Linked DNA regions of Homo sapiens: region 1 is linked to region 2. Evidence: promoter capture Hi-C in 16 types of primary human blood cells and fetal thymus (Javierre and others, 2016). All regions are on one chromosome and are shown on one strand. The core of a region is centred on a gene start or on the middle of the fragment in contact, and the rest is flanking DNA. Distances in the headings are between cores, read along the strand shown. Region 1 has its middle 5.9 kb from the start of URGCP-MRPS24. Region 2 holds the start of C7orf25 (chromosome 7 open reading frame 25).

Region 1 (3,433 bases), core at 601-3,100, 1.0 Mb after region 2:
AGGATCTCTTGAGCCTGGGAGGCTGAAGCCACAGTGAGCCAAGATTTCACCACTGCACTCCAGCCTGGGTGACACAGCAAGACTCTTTCTCATAAAAATAAATAAATAAAAAGAACATTACATATTGATAAGAGTCAATTCACTAAGAAGACATAACAATGATAAACATGTATGCACCAAACAAAAGATCCCCAAAAAATATGAAGCTAACATTGACAGAATTAAAGAGAAAAAATACAGACTTCTACAATAAAAGTTGGAAACTTCAATACCCCACTTTCAATAATAGTACAATCAGACAGGAGAACCATAAGAAAATAGACAGCCTGAACAGCACTATAAATAAACTGGACCAGCCAGTCACGGTAGCTCACACCTGTAATCCCAGCACTTTGTGAAGCCAAGGCAGGTGGATCACTTGAGGTCAGGAGTTCGAGACCAGTAGGGCCAACATGGTGAAACCTCCTCTCTACTAAAAATACAAAAATTAGCTGGGTGTGGTGGCGCACACCTATAATCCCAGCTACTCGGGAAGCTGAGGCAGGAGTATTGTGTGAACCCAGGAGGTGGAGGTTGCAGAGAGCTGAGATCATGCCACCGATTCCAGCCTGGGTGACAGAGCGAGACTCCATCTCAAATAAATAAATAGGGCCAGGCGCGGTGGCTCACGCCTGTAATCCCAGCACTTTGGGAGGCTGAGGAGGGTGGATCACCTGAGGTCAGGAGTTCAAGACCAGCCTGGCCAACATGGTGAAACCCCGTCTCTACTAAAAATACAAAAAATTAGCCAGGCGTGGCGGTGGATGTCTGTAATCCCAGCTACTTAGGAGGCTGAGGCAGGAAAATTGCTTGAACCTGGGAGGTGGAGGTTGTAGTTAGCCAAGATCTCATCATTGCACTCCATCCTGGGCAACAAGAGTGAAACTCTGTCTCAAATAAATAAATAGGACCTAACAGACATATGCACAGCACTACTGAACAACAGCAAAATACATGTTCTTCTCAAATGCACATGGAACACTCTCCAAGATAGACCATATGTTAGGTCACAAAACAAGCCTTAATACATCATAAAATAATAAAATCATATAAAGTATCTTTTTTGATCATAATGGAATGAAACTAGAAACTAGACCTCACAACAGGAAGAAAACTAGAAAATTGACAAATGTGTGGAAATTAAAGAACACCCTTAAGCAACCAATGGACCAAAAGAAAAAAAACACAGGAAATTAGAAAATACCTTGAAAAAAAATAAAATATACCAAAACTTATGGGATGCAGTGCAGTCAGTTCTAAGAGGGCAATTTATACTTTAATGCCTATATTTAAAACAAAGAAAGATCTCAACTCAATAACTTAGCTCTATACCTTAAAGAAAAAGAAAATGAAGAGCAAACTATATCCAAAGCTAGCAAAAGGAGGGAAATAATAAAAATTAAAGTAATATGGGCCGGGCGTGGTTGCTCATGCCTGTAATCCCAGCACTTTGGGAGGCTGAGGCTGTTGGATTACCTGAGGTCAAGAGTTCCAGACCAGCCTGGCCAACATGGTGAAACCCTGTCTCTACTAAAAATACAAAAAATTAGCCAGGCGTGGTGGCGCACGCCTGTAGTCCCAGCTACTCGGGAGGCTAAGGCAGGAGAATCGCTTGAACCCAGGAGATGGAGGTTGCAGTGAGCTGAGATTGCACCACTGCATTCCAGCCTAGGCAACAGAGCAAGACTCCAAAATCAGGAAGTGTAAGTCCTCCAGCTTTGTTCTTTTTAAAACTGTTTTGGCTGTTCAGGATCCCTTCAGATTCCATATGAACTTTAGGATGGGTTTTTCTATTTCTGCAAAACCATCGAGATTTTGATAGGGATTACATTGTATCTGCAGATCACTTGGGGTAATAGTGACATCTTAACAATATTGTCTTCCAATTCAACCCATCAACATAGGATGTCTTTCCTTTTATGTATTTATTCTTTAATATTTTGTAGCAATTTGTATGACTCCCTTCAGCATTTCTTGCAGGACCAGTCTATTGGTAATGAATTCCCTCAGCTTTTGTTTTTCTGTGAATGTCTTAATTTCTCCTTCAATTTTTTTTTTTCTTTTTGAGACAGAGTCTCACTCTGTTGCCCAGGCTGGAATGTAGTGGCATGATCTCAGCTCACTGCAACCTCCACCTCCCGGGTTCAAGAGATTCTCCTGCCTCAGCCTCCCATGTAGCTGGGATTACAGCCATGCGCCACCATGCCCAGCTAATTTTTATATTTTTAGTAGAGACAGGGTTTCACCATGTTGGCCAGACTGGTCTCCAACTCCTGACCTCAAGTGATCCACCCACCTTGGCCTCCCTAAGTGCTGGGATTACAGGTATGAGCCATCCCGCCCAGCCTCTCCCATACTTTTGAAGGACAATTTGCCAGATATAAGATTCTTGGTTGACAGTTTTTTTTGTTTGTTTGTTTTTTGAGACGGAGTCTCGCTCTGTGGTCCAGGCTGGAGTGCAGTGGCGCGAACTCGGCTCACTGCAAGCTCCGCCTCCTGGGTTCACACCATTCTCCTGCCTCAGCCTCCTGAGTAGCTGGGACTACAGGCGCCTGCCACCACTCCCGGCTATTTTTTTTTTTTATTTTTTATTTTTAGTAGAGACGGGGTTTCACCGTGTTAGCCAGGATGGTCTTCATCTCCTGACCTTGTGATCTGCCTGCCTCGGCCTCCCAAAGTGCTGGGATTATAGGCGTGAACCACCGCACCTGGCCCTGACAGTTATTTTCTTTAAGCACTTTAAATATATCACCCCACTGCCTGCTAGCCTTAAAAGTTTCTCATGAGAAATCTGCTGATAATCTTATTAAAGAGCCCTTAAATATGATGAATCACTTCTCTCTTCACACTTTCAAGATTCTCTGTTTTTGGCTTTCGAAAGTTTTATTTTATTTCATTTATTTATTTATTTTTGAGATGGAATCTCGCTCTGTTGCCCAGGCTGGAGTGCAGTGGCATGATCTTGGCTCACTGCAACCTCCGCCTCCCTAGTTCAAGTGATTCTCCTGCCTCAGCCTTCCAAGTAGCTGGGACTACAGGTGCACATCACCACGCCCAGCTAATTTTTGTATTTTTAGTAGAAACAGGTTTTTACCATGTTGGCCAGGCTGGTCTTGAACTCCTACCCTCAAGTGATCCACCTGCCTTGGCCTACCAAAGTCCTGGTATTATAGGTGTGAGCCACTGCACCTGGCCTATTTTATTTGTTTTTTTATAGAGACTATCTTGCTCTGTCACTCAGGCTGGAGTGCAGTGGCGTGATATTAGCTCAAGCTGATTTCTTGGGCTCAAGCAATCCTTTGGCCTCAGCTCCCTAAGTAGCTGGTACTACAGGTGCTTGCCACCACACCTGGCTAATTTTTGTATGTTTTGTAGAGACGGGTTTTGCCAGGGT
Region 2 (3,432 bases), core at 321-2,820:
CTGCCCAGCCAGATGTTATGAAGAGCTTCAGCCTTCCGGCCAATGGCTTTCACCCAAGTATGACCACCATTTGCAACTACATCTACCACAAGGGTTTGCTTTTCTCCTAAGGTATCTGTATAACCAAAGACATGAAGAACACTAACAACTTCTTCCAGGTTTTCTGCTGATTCCACAATGGCTCTCAGGTGTGTTAGGTTAGTGCTCTGTAAATGAGACTCTTTAATAGCTACTTTCCCAGCTTCTACTTTCTGCAAGAATTTTAATTCTGCCTTCAATTTGCTGCACAGCTTTGCACCACCTTCTATGCCACCTTTTCTTGATCTAGAAAGTGATTCTGCTCTCTTGATCAGTTCCTTGGCTATGGCGATTCGTTCACAGAGCATGGAATGTGCAGACATGCTGTCAGCATTATTCCTTTCCTAGGGAAAGAAACAAGGCAAACTTCAGTAGTCTCCTAAAATTATGACAATCAATTCTTCACTGGTGATTAAAAACTTCAATCTAGCAACACAGCTTATGGAGGGTGAGTCTATGAACCCGGGCTTGTGTATGTCTCATTCTGGAGTGACTGCTTCCTCTGATAGCTAAGGAAAGGATGGCAGCTACACTTTTGAACTCTTCTTTAGGTACGTCTGACACACTTTAGACCTTCATTTCTTCAGCTTGAAAGCCATGGGGACACAGCATGGTCCTAGGTTAGGATACAATGCAAGAGTTGGGCAATCTGCTATATAAATAATTCCCTTATGTCTATCAGCGGCCTGTTTAACTGCTGAGAAATTTTAATAAAGGCGACAAAAATGCCGAAAACAAAAATACACACAGACTGGCTAGTTAGCAAACTGTCCAAAGCAAGTGTCTGTCCTAAACTGAGCACTTCAGCCTCCCTAACCTTTTCCTCCTTCCCGAGTTGGTCTCCTTCAACCGGCTGCCTCATGATTTCCCCCGAGGCTTGGGGTACTTACGCCAAAAAAAATCAACACTGCCTCATTTCTGCATTTGACGTCAACCCAGACTATTTTAAAAGACCGAAGAAGACCACCAACTTGCGTCCCACTCCCACTCCGACTCTGAAGGAAAATCCGAAGATGAAACTAAACTCCAAGGCTGCAACCCGCGGCGGCCGTGCAAGCGGCCCCAGCGCAGGTCGCCGGGTGGGCGGGCCAGAGGCCGGCGGGGCCTTCTCGGTGGGCTGCGGGGCCCTCGGCCCTGCCCGGCCACCTGCACAGCCGGGCCCTGCCAGGAGGGGCCGGGGCCGAAAAGCCCCCACCGCCAGCGCCGCGGCTCAGGGACCAGGCGCTGATAGCGCGCGGCCGACCCCCTTCCCGCCGGGCCGGCCCTGCCCAGCCCCCTCTGGCCTCAGAAGAGGCGCCCCGCTCCCAGCCTCCCCGCCTCGCTCCCCGGCTCCTCACCGGCAGCGCCAGAACCGCGAGCGCGAGCACGCAGGCGCGTGCACGCAGAGGCCGGGACCCGCCGGGAAATCTCAACCGGGCAGCCCCCACCCCGCTCGAACGCCGAGGCGGCTCCACCCGCGCGAGCCCCGCCGCCTCGGGCACCTCCTGCATCACGTGGTTCCGGGCCGGGTGACGCCAAACCTGCGATTCCCAAGCGGCAGCGCGGCCTCCCGAGCCGGGTTGACGCTGGCGTGGCGGCCATGTTTATTGAGGGCACCTGGCTTCTCCCGCTTGCGCCGCCGGGTGAGCCTGAAGGCGCGCACCCACCTGGCTCCAGGAAGAGGGACCGAGCTCGCGTGCTGGGCCTCACTCCCACTGGGGGCGTCGGCCACTCGATCGCAACCGGGTCGTAGGCATTTTGGGGGCTCATTTTAACAGAAGAAACGCTGGAGAAGCTTGTCAGAGGTGACAGCTGAGAAGTACTGCCTCTGGGACTTCTGCCTCCAAGCCAAAGCACTTTCCACTGCATTGTCCTGGGCCCTCCAAAGAAAGTGTGCTGTCCTTCTGAAGAGAAGAAATGATTGCATGGCTTCCGAGGGGCTGCCATATTCATATTACTGTAGTAGAGTGTCCAGAGTCACCCAGAAAGATTAGGGCTGTAAGAAAGTAAAGCTAATTTAAAATATTAAAGAGGACTTCCAGTTATAATTAATCCTGTGTATCCTGCTCCTTCTCCAAACTTAACAGTAAAGCAATGCTCCTTCTCCAAATAACAGTAAAGCAATGACAAAGGGAACAAACAAAGGCAAAAAGAACAAGAGAAGAGATGACTGCAGACCGGTTATACCAACACATTTTTGGAGGACAAGAGCAATAACTTATTCAGTCCTTACAGCGTGACAGACATTGTTCTAAGTGTTTTACACATTGTTCACTCCTTTAAACAACCTAAAAGGTAGAGATATTAAGTATGCTTTACAGATAAGTGAGCCATAGGGAGGTTACCTGAACCCAAGCACCCTCTTTGCAGATGGTGTCAGGAGAACTGAGCAAACTGCTTGTAGAAGGGGATATTTAGCCACTGATTCACAAAGCAGAACCCCAGAAAGCTTCAGGTGCCTTGAAGGTAGAAGGGAGGGCAGTAAATTGTTCAGGCAGAAGACTAGTTTAAGATGCTAAAGACAGGGCATCAGAGGGATTCCAGACACAAAGCCTAACAAAGGATGAGAGGTGCCATGATGTTTTCCTACTGAATAGTGCAATGCTAGCAGCCCCCTTCTCTGCCCCTCCCATAATGCAGGCACCCCTCTACCGCTCCCTACCACTATCTCCCCATAACCCTATTTTTCTCTGAAGAAATGAGTAGACAAAAGACCCTAGAGAAATGGCTCGGCAATACCAACATTCAGCATCCCCTAGTGTGAGCCTCACGAACACAGCATTTCCCAACGTTTTTGTTATTTGAAGGAAATGGAAAACAGAACAAAATGGTCTCAAAAAGTATTCTATAACTAGCATCTTCAAATAAAAGATATTTCAGCTATGAAACAAGAGGATTTCTTTTTTTAAGGAGACAGCAGAGCACAGGAAATGGTTCTTCTGTAGTAAAAATCATATCCCAAATTTCAAAACATCAATGAGTTGGAAAAATTTAGAAAGTAGAAATAGATGAAAAATGGAGCAAAAACAAAAGGATCCAGTATCCAATTAACAGGAGTTTAGAAACAAAAACAAAATGAAGAGAAAATTTTTCAAAAACTTAATAGAAAATTTAGCAAACAGAAACGTTTTTCACAGTGCAAGGGCCCACTGAGTGCTCACCACAATGACTATTAAGAAACCCACACAAAGGAACATGGTTGTGAAGTTTCAGAACACAGCAGATAAGAGAAAAACCAAGAGCTGCAGAGGGGAAAACTTACAAAGGACTTGGCATCACATACGCAATAGTATTAGGCTTCCTATCAGCAACACTGGAATTTAGAAGGGAGTAATGCTTTCAAAATGTGGAGATAATTTATTTCTTAGAGTTTTT

What was found. Contacts are between HindIII fragments. The CHiCAGO score rates a contact against its expected background, and 5 or more counts as called.
Region 1: a fragment that was not itself captured here is called in contact with the fragment with the promoter of C7orf25 in region 2 in 2 of 17 cell types (naive CD8 T cells and non-activated CD4 T cells); the score reaches 8.2 in naive CD8 T cells.

Annotation. Positions count from the first base shown.
Region 1 is chr7:43,910,765-43,914,197 of GRCh38, forward strand. It overlaps a transcript of URGCP not described here. Among named protein-coding and RNA genes, the nearest start is that of URGCP-MRPS24, 5.9 kb to the left of the region's middle. The HindIII fragment of the contact is 7,696 bases long and covers 1-3,433 here.
Region 2 is chr7:42,910,500-42,913,931 of GRCh38, forward strand. C7orf25 (chromosome 7 open reading frame 25) reads right to left here and starts at 1,571. Exons shown (of 2, transcript NM_001099858.2): 1 at 1,416-1,571; 2 at 1-422. The coding sequence starts at 401. RefSeq lists enhancers at 400-1,097, 1,098-1,794, 3,314-3,373 and a silencer at 1,143-1,402. The HindIII fragment of the contact is 2,903 bases long and covers 1-1,850 here.